2 separate regions of the Homo sapiens genome follow, and region 2 is linked to region 1. The links are contacts of gene promoters, found by promoter capture Hi-C in blood cells and fetal thymus (Javierre and others, 2016). All regions are on one chromosome and are shown on one strand. Each heading gives the region's core, a stretch centred on a gene start or on the middle of the fragment in contact. The rest is flanking DNA. Distances are from core to core; before and after follow the strand shown.

The links. The method cuts DNA at HindIII sites, captures the fragments that hold promoters and counts their contacts. A CHiCAGO score of 5 or more calls a contact.
Region 2: a contact is called between a fragment that was not itself captured here and the fragment with the promoter of GADD45G in region 1, in 4 of 17 cell types (total B cells, naive CD4 T cells, naive B cells and 1 more). The highest score is 7.1, in total B cells.

What each region holds. Positions count from the first base shown.
Region 1 is chr9:89,603,703-89,611,305 of GRCh38, reverse strand. It overlaps GADD45G (growth arrest and DNA damage inducible gamma), which reads right to left and starts at 6,294. Exons shown (of 4, transcript NM_006705.4): 1 at 6,132-6,294; 2 at 5,773-5,874; 3 at 5,426-5,639; 4 at 4,751-5,337. The coding sequence starts at 6,184. The coding sequence ends at 5,227. LOC105376139 (a long non-coding RNA gene) reads left to right here and starts at 6,290. Exons shown (of 2, transcript XR_930105.3): 1 at 6,290-7,603. RefSeq lists a silencer at 6,925-6,974 and an enhancer at 6,585-7,483. The HindIII fragment of the contact is 4,421 bases long and covers 4,786-7,603 here.
Region 2 is chr9:90,174,957-90,181,707 of GRCh38, reverse strand. No RefSeq gene overlaps it. Among named protein-coding and RNA genes, the nearest start is that of MIR4290HG, 140 kb to the right of the region's middle. RefSeq lists a silencer at 5,646-5,705. The HindIII fragment of the contact is 863 bases long and covers 5,063-5,925 here.

The DNA of each region.
Region 1 (7,603 bases), core at 5,045-7,544:
AGATGCAGATTGGGCCAGACCCAAAGGAGTCACATGATCTCCACTATAGCAGGGGCTCCTCTGACCAGGAGCCTTCCTGCTACCCCCAAGCCTATACTGGCATCCCTAAAAGTAGGGGACTCAGGTAGGTGACAGTAAAGAGCTGGACCCTGAGGACAGGGATGGAAGGGGCAGAAGCAGAGCATGGACAGAGCATGGAGAAACCTAGGAGACAGAGCGCTGCACCCTGGGCACACTGGGATATGTGGAGCCCACCCATGTTTGCACAGGGTGTGATACTCTCTTCACCGGGAAACTTCACCTCCTCATCACTGTCATCATAGCCCACCTCATAGCCCAGTCATCCATCCACAAGCCCACCTCAAAGATCAGGACCTTGGCCCCCAGGGAAGGGCATGGAATAAGCATGCGGGTGTGCATGGCTCTTTGCACCAGGCCGGGCCCTGGGCAGAGACTGACTTTGGGCTCAATCAGACAAGGTGTCCGCTGGACCTCCACACAGGGTCAGGGCCTAGCAAGTTTGAGGGGATGGATCTGGGACACTGAGTGGATGGAAGGGAACTGGAGAGAGCCCCAGGCCAGGCCAGAGAGCTGGCGCCAGGCCCAGCTCCTGGGAGCAGAGGCTGCTCGTTTCTCGTCTGAGTCCCCAGGGCCTGGTTCACAGCAGGAGCTCCAAAATGGAAGTGAAGGTGGAGGGGGAAGGGGGAAAGAAAGGAGGAGGAAGGGAAGGATGTGGGAGAAAATGGACGAGAGGGAAGAGCAGAGGTGGAGGTGGAGGTGGAGGCAAAAAAAGGAAGAAGAAGAGAAGGTTGCAGGGAGGGAAGTAGAATTGGAAAGCAGTCTTTGGAAGCCACTAGCAGTGCTCAGGAGGGAAGCACAAGTCACAGCTTGGGAAGTCTTGGACTGGAGAAAAATCGAAGAAATAGAAAGAAAAGGGAGATGGTGAGAAGGAAAGAAGCCGAGGGTGTTTTTGATGCAAAAAGGTAATGGAATGCCAACTGTGACATATTTTTTAGTTGGCCAATGAGAGTCTCATAAAATTAGCAATTGGTATGGGAAATGGTGTCCCCACACTCACCTTTCTCATTCCTGTCCTCACCGTGTTTTCTAGGCAGGATGAATAAGAGACGGATGGGCTTGGGAATGCGAAGCCATGGGCTCAACTCAATGCTGTCAGGACCTTCCAGGCAGGCAAGGATCAGTGGGGAGGCCATGCCTAGCACTGTGCCTGGCACAGCACATGTGCTCAGGAAATGCCAGCTGAATTAATGAGGGGATGAATGAATGAACGCTTGAACCACATGGTGGACAGCCTATGTCCTACCCTTGAAGCCCAGCAGCCCAAGGCAGTGCCTGTCTTACCCAGCATGAGGAGCTCACAGAGGTTTTAAAGGCCTCTGCTGCATCAGTGGGCAAGAAGCCATGCATCTTGTTGGTGCAGCCACCAGCTCCCAGTATCTAGACTCTGCCACCCTGTGTGGATGAACTTTACTCACACACTATTAGTTGATGAAGGGAGTGAAATTATTTGGCAATTTTATTCTAGTTGATAAAGGGAAGTTTGAGCTAGACCTAAAAACCAAATATAAGTTTGCGCTAGGACAGAATTCAAAGCCGTGTAGTCATTCCAGGCACCCCGAGGCTTCCAGCTGGCCCTGCACACGAACTTAGCCACTCCTCTGGCGGCCGCTTGCAGCAGCTCAGGTGCACCACGCAGGATCATGTCTCATTGCCCCCAGTTAAGTCATAAAGTCTCTCCTTTGTGACCGTGGAAAGACAATACACTTTTGACATTTTGGAGGGCATACTCAAATGAGGAGTACAGGGGTTGGCATCTTAGAAAAGCAACTGAAAAACACAAGAATCTCAAAAAAGCAAAATTGGGTATCTGTTTACTGAGCTGACCCTACACGCCTTGGTTTGTTTGCCAACATCCTTGCTTTTCCTCTGAAAAATTCATTTTTTATTTTTTCTGAAGTGGCTTCAAAACCAATACGCATTGTACTTCTGAGGCTAATGGTTTAATAAAATATATAACACAGAGAATTAGAGCCCTTAAAAATAAAATAAATCTCAGAGATCATTTTGTCCTATCATCTTGCCAGGAGAGGAACAAGGAGACCTCAGCTCCCTATGTGGGCAATGCTGGGTGTGGGCAAGGAATGCCTGACTCTCCAAGCTGCTCCTGTTGTCATTCTGTATCCATTTCATCTTCACAACAGGTGCTTTGCCAGTGCCAATTTTTACAGTGACCATATGCAAAACTTAAAAAAATTAAAAATAAGAATGCTTTACTTTCATTGCTCTGGGGGTGGCAAAGGTTTGTTTTAGACATGTGATACCTAAAATCCTGCAAACGGCAGTCATGTTTCCAGTTCAGTGAGGGCTGCAAGGTAAAGAAGATGCCCCAGCTGGATCCCAGGCTGGAATGTGTATTTTCACCCAGGCACTGGAGCCTGCTAAAGCAGAGACAAGCCCTGTCCCAAGGTCATGTGGATATATGGGAGCTGTAATAGCATGTTAAGGAAAAGGAGACGGTAACTAAATCCAATGCAGACTAAGCCAAATGCAGCTTAAAAACTGTTGGGTGTGCTTGTGTGTGTTACAGAATATGTAAGAGGAAAAATAGAAGTTCAGAAGGAAATATTAATACATCAAAACTTGCTGATGGTCAGTTACAGGCACTTTTACTTATTTCTTTAATGTTGATGTATTTTACAATTTTTCTGCAATGAATACATATAACTTATAAAGGTAGAAAGTTATCTAATGAAAATAGCCTTCTTTCCAAAATAAGCCTGCCGCAAGTGCTCCAGCACCCGGAAGTTCATGGCAGCAACGTGTTGGTCCTGAAACCAGACGGCTAGTCCAAAACCCACTAGTTCACTTGGAGTTCTGTGGTCTGGGACAAATGTCTTCGTTAGCTTTTAAGTATTATTGTCATTAACATTCATTCAGTGCTTTCTAGATGCCAGGCATTGTGCTCGTCTTTATGGGTCACCCCCAACACATATGTAGTGATAATTACCACGCACTGAGGGCTTATATATGCATTATCATATAGGGTTGTTGGAAGTACTAAATGCAATTATGTGTTTATAAACACTGGACATTTTATTATCTGCCCTCTGAGTTAGTTCATGTTAATAGCATTAAACACCTGTTCATCAAAAAAAAAAAAAAAGAAAAAGTTTAGCACAACTTTTGGGCATGGCACTGTGTCCCATCATGCATTTATTCACCTGAAAATTCTCCTAGCCCTTTGGGGTTCCAACAGGTGGCCTCATAGCAAGCTCTAATCAAAAAACCAAGGGCTTACAACCTCATGTTCTACAAGTGTCGCTTGGCCAACAGGAGGGTCTGCCTACCTGCTCTGTGCAATGTTCTGCTGAATTTACTCATTTAAGGGTTCATTTTAAAGTAATCAAGTCCACTTTGTGTTTACAATAGCATGTTCTGGTCATTTTGCTGGAACGCAGACTGGTAGACAGGCCCACCCCAAGACTACCTCAATAAGAAAACCTTAAGATTTCAAGCAGCAAATAGGTAAAATAGTAATGAAAATTGGGCACAAATACAACTGAATTTTTTATCTAGGCTTCTGTCCCATTGAGGAGTAGATGTTTTTAGGAGCTGATAAATGGAAAACAAGGACGCTTTCATTACAAGAAGAGTAATTCAGTACAGTTTTCCTGTTGCCTCAAGAATCCTCCCGTAATTTGGACGGAATTTTAGGACGTGGCACTCAATGAGGTAAATCAGCCACCCCAAGCACTGAAGACAGCACATCATGCCTCCTTTGCCCAGAAGGCTCAGCCTGCTTGGCAGTCTAGCTGACAGCACAAGGGTCCCACATGTATTTCCCCTGCTGAAAGCAGCTAGTTAGACACAGAACGAACTCAAGGCATATTGGTCTCATAAAAAAGATTGATTCGATCAGGACATTTCCCCCTAGTTCCTTTTTAAAGAAAGTCTTGGCTTAAAATATTTAATTTTTTTTTCCTATGAGTCTTTAAACGGAATTGTGAATAGCAGCAATCCTCGTAACTCTGATGTGGGCAGAGAACACTGAAAATAGTAGATAGCAGATGCCAGGCCCCCTCAGAATTGCTCATGCCTATTTATATAGATGCTGCCTTCCAATTTTTTCTCAGATCTTCCAAGTTCTATCACAGCCATGACAAAGTAATGACTCATACTTAAATGCAGTCATCAATGTCATATTTGGTATTAGTACCTTTGTAGCATTGCTTTGTGTCAGAGCATTTAAGAGGAAAAAGTCCCCAAGAGCAGGAGCAGTCTGCCACCATCCTCAGGGACCACAAAGGGCAGGGCCTGCAGAAGGCAATGCTCATTGTGCAGGAAAGCCTGAGGCCTCCTGCAAGCTGTTCAGATAAGCAGCTGTAGGAGGGAGGGGGAGGAGGGCCGAGGAGGGGGAGGGGAGGCACAGGTCACTGTTATCGCCTTGGAAGGCAAGACTTCAGCTGCTGCACTGTCTTATCTCAAGTATGCTCCTGTTTTGCAAGTTTAAAATCTTCCTAAAAGGAGAAAAGTAGGAGCCAGGCTCAAGTTCTACCCTAGCACTGGGCAGCATGCCCTCCCTCTGCCAGAGGGGAGGAGCCTGTCATTCTTGCCCGACAGGAAGACGGAACAGGTGCCATCAGTTCCACGGAGTTCCAGCAATCCTCTGAAACCCTGCACGCCACCTCCCCCGACACAAAGATCCCCTACCCTCAATAAAGAGCATAAGTTTGTTTCAAAAAGTTTATTGTAAAATTCAAAGCTTCAACAGCAGCATCCTTTAGAAAACGAAGCATTGCCCGGATCCGTTTTGAAAAAGCAGCGCAGTCGGCTAAGTCCTTCACGCTCCTGCAACTGTACCAAGTCCAGGGCGCCGCTCCTTCCTGCCGAGCGCAGGCTGCTGAGTCACGCCTGCCCGGCCAGTCTGTCCTTCCTGGCCCTGAGGCCAACGTCCTAGCCTAGGCCTTCCTGGGCGAGCAGCCGCTCCAGACACTTGCAGAGTCCTCAGCTCGGACCAGCCTGGCCCTGCCGCCACCGGGCCCCTCCTCGGGAGGCCGCGCCTCCTCGCTCTCCAGGCGCCCCCCCCGCCTGCCAGTCTCCACGCCGCACTCGGGCACCCTCGGAGGGCCCCTCCACAGAGCCAGCCGCGCTCTAGGCGCCCCGGGGCGTCACCACGTCGATCAGACCAAGGTCCCCGCCGGGCTGTCACTCGGGGAGGGTGATGCTGGGCACCCAGTCGTTAACGCTGCGGCTCTCCTCGCAAAACAGGCTGAGCTTCTCCAAGGCGGGATCCTTCCAGGCGTCCTCGTTGGGGTTCTGCGGAGAGAGAGCAGGGTCAGCCTGGCTGGCCGCGGGCCGAGGCGGGAACGACACTGGGGCGGGGACAGGACGGGACTGTACTCACCGAAATGAGGATGCAGTGCAGGTCGCCCGGCGCACCCGCCTCCTCGCCGGCGCCCACGATAGCCGCCAGCCGCTGCACATCGCCCACGCGCACTATGTCGATGTCGTTCTCGCAGCAGAAAGCCTGGATCAGCGTAAAATGGATCTGCAGCGCGATGTCGCCCTCGTCCTCCTCACCCGCAGCCAGCACACAGAAGGTCACATTGTCGGGGTCCCTGCGAGGGCAAGGCGGGGACCTAGGTCAGAACCGGCTAGCCGAGTTCTCCCGCCGCCACCCCTCCCATCCGCCAGTCTCCTCGCCATTCACCCCCGCCCCTGTCTCCCAGCCTGGGCCGCGTCTACACTTACACGTTCAAGACTTTGGCTGACTCGTAGACGCCGGCAGTGAGGCAGCCCTGACGCTGCGCCGACAGCAGCAACTCATGCAGCGCTTTCCCGGCACCCTGCATCCTGCGGAGGAGCCAGCGCAGTGAGCGGGAGCCGGCCGGAGGGCGCGGCGGAGACCCCAGCCCCGGCCACCGGCACACACCCTTGGCTCCCCAACTCCAACCACACTCCAATCCCGGCTCAGCGCCTGCACCCCGGCTCTCCAACCGGGATCTGGCGCCCGGACCCCCGCGCTCCCCTCCTACCCCGCGGATTCCCACCCTGGAAAACCCTGACGGTCGCCGACCGACCAGCGGCTTTCTCAGCGCCCTGAAACCCACCTGGCTGTGCTTTCCGGAACTGTGTCCTGGCCGCGGACTTCTTCCAGAGTCATAGTGCGATCAACCAGCAGCTAGTTATCCACAAGCGGAGAGCGCGGAGGGGACGCGGGCGAACACACTGACAGCCAGAGCTCAGCACGGCGCGCCCACCACCAGCGAGTGCGCCCCTACTACGCTGCGCGCCCTTATATAGGCTGGTGGGTGCGGCGCCGCCAGCTGGCGCGAGGCTGCGCGCCTATTGGCCGGCACCCGCTTTCTGATGTAAATGAGGCGGCGAGCCAGCGGCTCGTGCCAGAAGGCCACGTGGGGAGGGGTGCGGGGGATGACAATGCCTCAAATCTGCCGCTTTTGTTGGGGTGTTACCAGGCAGACTGGAGCCTGCAGATTTCATCTCGCCTGGCTTTTTTTTTTTTTTGAAGTCCTTAAAAGGAAAAAGTAAAAAAAAAAAAAAAAGAAAAAACCCAACCCACAAAAACCTTGTTTGCTTATATGATGCTGCAATTTGCGAAAAGCACCTTTATAGAAGCAAAGGGATTTTTTTTTGCATTTTGTATTGCTACCTTTCTATTTGTTTCTTTTCTTTAATTTGAAGTCTATGAGACTGTTGCATTGGAGCCAGAAATTAAGGTAAAAACAGGTAGCGCCAGTTAGAGGCTTGCAAAAGGCAGTGGGCACAGCCCCCTGCAGCTGACCACTAGCGTCCCGAGCGCGCTGGTGATGCCTGCCAGGCATACTCAATGTGTACATTGAGCCGTCTCTGGAAGATCCCACCCCACCTCCCCGCCCTTGGCCGAGCGCGGCGGGGCGCGGGAGACGGGGGCGGGCGGGGACGAGCAGATTGCGGCCGGCGCACGCCGCTCGTTTGCATTTCTATGGAGGGCGCACAATAGCAGAGGTCTGGCGTGTGGCGGTTTGCTGTAGGGACAATCGAGGCTTTCTCTTCATAGCAACACTGTCCACCTGCCGCCGGGTGGGGTGGGCAGGACCCCGCCGCGCGTGGGGGTCGCCGGGCTGCCTGGCGCGTGGGGTCGAGGCTGAGTGCCACTCCGTGGTCCCTGAGTGCACGCCCCCAGTACTGGCCCTGCTACAAGTAATTCCCTTCCATCCGTTCCTCGCACGGGTGCCGAACAGCCGCGCGAGTTGGGAAGGACGGAGAGCTGCTGTGCAGTCTTCGCGGCTGGACGCCCTGTGGCCGGGACCCCGCGGCTGCAGCCCCTGGAGCTTAGGTAATGCAGCTCGGAATCTTTCCCGGGGCGCCATCTGCAGGCAGGTTAAAAAGATCCTGAACCCCTTTTGTCCTCCCCTCCCCCCAACACACACACCCTTGCATTGGCCTGGCGCGGGGGAAGGGCGGTGGAGAGGGACGGCCACGGAGCTGCCCGGCCGGGCCCAGTGAGCCCTGTCCAAGCTGCGCATAAATAGAACCCGAGTAAGGGCTGCAAAACGCATTCAGGTGGGACTGCAGTTACCCT
Region 2 (6,751 bases), core at 4,245-6,744, 570 kb before region 1:
ATGCGCCATATACTGGCGTAGCTGGCCCTCCCTGTTGGTGGTTTTGCATCTGTGGATTCAACCAACCACAGATGGAAATAACTCCCAAAAAATTGCATCTGTGCTGAACACGTACAGACTTTTTTTCTTGTCATTATTCCCTAATCAATACAGAAAAACAACAATTTAGATAGCACTTATGTTGTATTGAGTATTATAGAAATGATTTAAAGTATCATTTAAAGTCATTTAAATAAGAGAGTCATTTATTCAAATAAATGATTCATTTATCCGAATCCACAAGAGGATGTGCATAGGTTATATGCAAATACTACAGTACTTTATAGAGGGATTTGAGCATTCATAGATTTTGGTATCTGCAGGGGTCCTAGACCCAATCTCTCACAAACACCAAGGGACACCTGTATTTTATTTTAATACTTTTTTGTCCTCTACATTGTGCTACCTGATCTTTCTTTTCCCTAACAATATATACAGTTTGTAAGGAGATTTTTAGTCTTTTTTGATCACTTTATTCATCCTTAAAATGATAAAATGATGGAGCTCTCTCCAGGTCAGTGGGATGAAGACAGGGTCTTTCAGAACACCTCCCTCACCCTTTGAGCTTCTCCTCTGCAGGTGGCAGGCAAGGTATCTATGTTAGGGATATAGCTGTGGCTTTAAAACTCATGCCCATGGGGGTGTTCTGAAAAATATATTGATCTTAAACCCTTCTGTATTACACCTGGGCAACAGATTTAATTTTAATTGAAAAGTTGTAGATTTTATATTTTTATGTGATTCAGCTGAGACAACTAAAATTCAGGGGCCATGTCCTTTTCTGTACAGGTGCTTGAATTGGGCAGGGTTGTTACCAAAACACCAGGCGTTCCGTCTAGGTCCTGCTCCTTGCCACACAGGAAGCCAATGACTGAGACAATGAGTATTGCCATAGAAGAAAGCTTTAATCTGGTGCTACAGCCAAGGAGATGGGAGATCAGTCTCAAATCCATCTTCCTGAACAACTAAAATTAGGGACTTACATAGCAGAGAAGAAATGTAACACATGCAGGAAAACAGGAATTAGGGAGGAGTAAGGAAGAGGAACTGGTCAACAGGAAGCAGGTACTTAGGCAACCATGGTGGGTGAAGACTCTGATGTCTCATTGTCCAGATGCAGTGATCTGGTGAGTTTTAGTTCCACGATACTATCTGGGAGGCCTGACTGTTGGTTTCCTCAGAAAGGAACCCATATAAGACAAATGTAACTTTCTAAAGATTTAAGACTGGGAGGGTCAATTTCTATGTTTATTCAAAAGAAATAGTAAACATAAGTTCTATGGGAAAATTGGATCAGTTTCAGGGTTATGGGGCAAAAGAGAGTAAGTGGATAAAAAAATTATATTAGCACTTAAAACTATCTCCTGTTTCTTTTGTGTATAACTATTTCCTAATTAAAGTATGTCACTTACACATTATTCTGTATAATTTACCATAAAGTTGTCTGCCAATACTGATTCTGTTTTATTCACCAATAGCATAACCACACGAATTCTGCTAGAGTTATTAGAAAATTAAAATAAAATACTTGGCAATCAAATGAGTTTCTTTGGAGCATTAGTATATTATTTCTATGCAGTGCCATTTGGAAAATAGTAAAAGATAAACCAAAATTGTAGGACACTTTGTACAATTTATATAAGCTTTGATAAAGAAACATTGAGAAAGAGCTTCACTACAATTATCTTCAGACTTCAGTATCTACATCTTTGTGAAAAAGAGAATGCCTGAGGGCTTTAAGTTATCATAGAAAGGATAGTTCTTTTGCTTCCATAAAGATTTAAAACTCCCACCTCCAATTCCAGTAATATTACAGCACAACCAATGAGTCTTTTCTTTTATGATTTCCAGCAGTTCTCATTGCCAATTAGGCCTTTGAATGTAAAAAGCACCCATTTATAAATTGCACATTTAAATTACTTGGCAGGCGGATATCAATGCTAGATCTCTGTCTGTGCTGGTTGCAATAAAGGAAGGAGAATAGTAAACAAAGGGGGATGTTTAGTTAGACATAAAAGCATTTTAATAAAATGATTGAGGCAGGTGCACTGAAATATGAGGACACAGGAAAATGTAGCTAAGCATTTTATAAAGAGGTGAAACTCTGAATCAAACAGAAAACCATAGCTATTTCCTGTTCTCTAATTATTTTTATCTATCTATCTATCTATCTATCTATCTATCTATCTATCTATCTATCTCTCTTTCTATTTTTATAGACAGGTTCTCCCTCTGTTGCCCAGGCTTGAAAACAATGATGTGGCCATAGCTCACAGCAGCCTATATTTTTTAAAAAAGCTTTTTGATTTTTTTGTAGAGATAGGGTTTCACTGTTTGGCCCAGGCTAGTCTTGAACTCCTGGCCTCAAGCAATCCTCCTGCCTCAGCCTCCTGAATAGCTGGGATTACAAGCCCAAGCCACTATGACCAACCTTTTCCCTAGAGACTTGCTCATGGGTGGATTTGCATCACCCACCACAGATTGCCAGGATGTCGTATTTTATTGATGTTACAACTTCAATATATTAGAGATTGGCTGCATTTCATGAGTCTGGACTGGTACTTTGCCAGTTATGCTTTTTGACTCTCTCCTTTTTTCCCTGATGTAAAAAGCAAGTTGTATGGCATCCATGTAGATAAAAAGTAAGGTTAACTTTTCCAGGGAGCTCACTGAATGGTTCTGAAGGAGCTTCTGGAATGGCTTATAGGTGTGCTGAGCGCTTACCTCCCCTGATAGCTACGTAGCATATGCCACTGAATATTTGGCATTTGCTGTTTGGAGATGGCCGGTAGTTGAAATGTTATCCATTACCAGTCAACAAAGCCAATATAAAGACTCATAGAGATTGTGTAGTTTTGCCTGCCATACAGGTGTGCTGTTTGTCAGCAGCTTTGAGAGAATGTATATAAGTACTAGAAAATAAACAAAAACATAGCTAGTTATATACGAAAAAATATATATAAGAATCAACAAAACTATGAGCCTCCCTGCTTATCCTGCCTCCCCTTGGAATCCTGCTACTGTTCACTTGCATCATTAGATAAAAATCAACCTTTAAGTAATGAGATTTTCTGCTGCTTCCCTAAGTATCTATGGTTATATTACTTTCCCTTGGGGCATGGATTTTGTTCTACATCTTCTTGATGGCAAAAGTTTCTGCTAAGGAGTATTCCAGGAGGCTGACAGGCATCTTTTCTTTTTGAGTCAATACCTTGGTCATTTATGTAATGATGAGAACCCTAGAGATTTAGCAGATGGTGTGTTCAATTTGCACTTATTTGCATATCTGTTTTGCAATCATAAAGTTCTAATGACATAGTCATGACAACCCAAAATGGAAGCACGTTTTTGTGTTGGTAAATTTGGACAGGGTGCTGAGTGAGGAAGGCCTGTGAGATGCATGGGTGTGTCTGAGGTGAGAGGAGATTGGTTCAGATGGCCAGAGCCATGCCTTTATGACGGCAAGTGTATGAATCCTAATTCTGGGTTTCTGGTATATGTGTTAGGAGCATCAGATATCAGAGATCTAGATATATAAGAGGAACAAATCAAAGAAATGCTTTAAGTCATGGATCAGGAAGTATCGGAACCAAGGTGAGGGAAGCAGGGCAGCATTTTAGGAGACTGAAGATTTAATGGGCAAGGCACATGCACAGGGAAGATTTCCAAACATATACGGTAGTGTTCAGCCCTCTCTCTCCCAGATGGCCAGCCTGGGCTGACGGCTTGTAGGTGTTCTTTTGTCCACAAAGACTGAGCACTCTTGACTGAGGGAAGGGGTATGCTCTGGAGGCCTACTTTGCATCGCTCACCACAAAGAACTGATGTAGTCCTAGGAGGAGGTCCCAACAGGATAGCAGAAAGAGCCCCCACTGCTGAGTGTCTCCAAATGCTCTTCAGCTATAATCAGAAACAACTGAGAAGCTCATTGCAGATGCGAATTCCTAGGATCTCATCCTTGACTAACTGGATGCAACTCTCCAGGGCTGTGCTTGGGGTGACTGTCGGTTGCACATAAGTTTGCAAACCACTGAGCTCTGTGTGGATGTTGCACTCAGCTTCCTATCTAACCCACTATTTGACATTGTGCTGCAGTTGCGTCTCCAGTCAAACAAGGATGATAATGTATATTCCAGCTACTGGTTAAAATAACAGGAAATTCCTTTTTAAATTTGAAAATCCTACCCAGAGATTATTATCCTATTTTTTTACTGAACCAAGGGAAGCTCGTTTCTGGCCTCCAGCTGGGAATGTCATCAACATCAGTATTCTTCAATGTATGGTAGATATGTCAAAAAATGGCTTCGTAAGAGTTTTGGGTTCATTCTCTCCACCACCACCATCACTACCACCACAAATTATGGAGTATATTCATATGTTATTCACTATGCAGGATCAACATGTGAACAAAATGCACTTCTCCAGGAATGTCTGTCTAAGATCTCTTAAAGCACACCATATAATTGCAGGCAGGGTGTGTTCATGGACAGAACATAGGCTTTGAACAATACAAGACAAAGAGAGCACCTCTGTGACAAAGGAAGTCAGGAAGGCTCCACAAAAGAGACAGGGATGGGCTGGGCCTTTCATGGTATTCAAACAAGTGGAGTAGAGGCGGGAGCAAAAGGCCTGCTGGGATGGTGTACATAAAGGCTTGCTAGTAGGAAGAAGCAGATGTGTGTTCCAATTATTCATAATGTCCAATTCGACAGTTGTATTAAGTGCAGGGTGGCTGGTAAGATGATGCTATGGTTTAAATATGGTTTGTTTGATTTGGCCAAGTCTCATGTTGACACATATTCCCAATGTTGCAGGTGGGACCTACTGAGAAGTGTTTGGGTCATGGGCTGGATCCCTCATGAATGGCTTGGTGCCATCCTCATGGTAATGATTCTTGCTGTATTCGCTCTTGCAAGAGCTGATGGTTAAAAAGAGCCTGACACCTCCCACCATCCCCTCTTGCCTTTTCTTTCATGTGATCTGCACGCTGGCTCCTCTTCACCTTTCACCATGAGTAGAAGCTTCCTGAAGCTCTCAACAGAAGTAGATGCCAGTGCCATGCTCCTTGTACAGCTTACACAACTGTAAGCCAAATAAACCTCTTTTCTTTGTAAATTACCCAGCCTCAGATACCCCTTTATGGCAACACAAACGGACTAAGACAGATGAAGCTACTTTCCTCACACATAAAAAATAATACGTTTGTTTTTTGAATAGCCTTTCTTTGAAGAAAGGTGAGCATACCATATACTTTTGTAACTCATAAATGTTTTACATTTAATTATAGCTCAGTTTATTAAATCAAAATAAACTAAGTCAAATAAGATATAAACAGAAAACATTGCAGATTCTTTTTATGTGAACAAAACTTCAAATAAGTTACCTGTGCTTGGGTTTTCCACAAGACTGACAAGATTGCACTTAGTCAAATGCAGGAGTTCAGTCCCATTCCTGGGTGCTTCCCCGAACCAGCCCACACTGGCCTCAACAACAGAACATACGCTGAATACACATCACACACGACTGTGCCAGAGAATGAGCAGGTAGCTGTGGCAAAGCAGACCAGCACTCATAACTGCTCATGGGACCAATGCAACCTCTAGAGAGAACAGCTTCTCACATCCTCCTCACCTGCAAGGGACGCCCACATTCACCACCCACCACATGACCAGAAAACCCCCAAGCCAATCTTAGGAGACTAACAGCAGAATCTGCCCCCAGCTACATGATCTGGATTTTGAGTTACATTTTTCTAAAAAGAAAAGCCAAGCTATACTGATGGTTTCAGGTTCTATTTATTTTCATGGGAGCATCTCCAAGGCAACAAACTATTGGTTGCACCCAATTTATAAATCGTATTTTAATATCTCATTGGAGAATTAAGCTTATACACACTCTGCGTTTGTCCTTAAAATCCTGGAAAGAGAATAGAGCGGGAAGGTGGAGGCAGAATACAAGCAGAAAAATTGTTAAGAGAGAGAGAACACAGTCTTAATCTCTTGCCAATGAGGCCTCACATTCCAGAAGAGCTTCAGCCACAAGCCTGACTGGTCCTGAGGAGTATTTCCCCCACTCAAGGCAAGGTTTCTTTCCTTTCTAAGCCTGGGATTCTGAGCCCAGAGTCTCTGCACTGTTTACCCACCCACACTCATCCGCCCCTACCCACCAGACCCACCCATCTCCCCAACCCCCAGATACTCCCAACTCCCACCCTCCAGATACACGCAATCCCTACCTTCCAAGGCTCATCCAACCCCAACCTTCAGGCACAGCAACCCCATCCCCCAACCCAAGGGCAGATGGTTGAAGTAAGATTGAGGGATGATTAGTGTAGGTATCATTGAATAAGCAATGCAGAGCGGTGGGAAGTTTGCTGCCCCATCCTCCTACTTGTGGTTAGAAAAAACAGGGCATGTGGAAGGAGCTGGAGCTGAGTTGGGGACACTGCCAGGGTCAGCAGAGAGAGACAGCAGCAAGGAGAGGAAAGGAGCTTCCCACTGTGGGAGAGGTGGCCCATCCTATAGTGATAATCCAAAGAGAGAAATTCTTTTTTTTTTTTTTTTTTTTTTGAGACATAGTCTCGCTCTGTTGCCCAGGCTGGCATGCAGTGGCAGGATCTCGGCTCACTGCAAGCTCCAGCTGCCGGGTCCACACCATTCTCCTGCCTCAGCCTCCCAAGTAGTGGGGTCTACAGGCACCTGCCACCATGCCC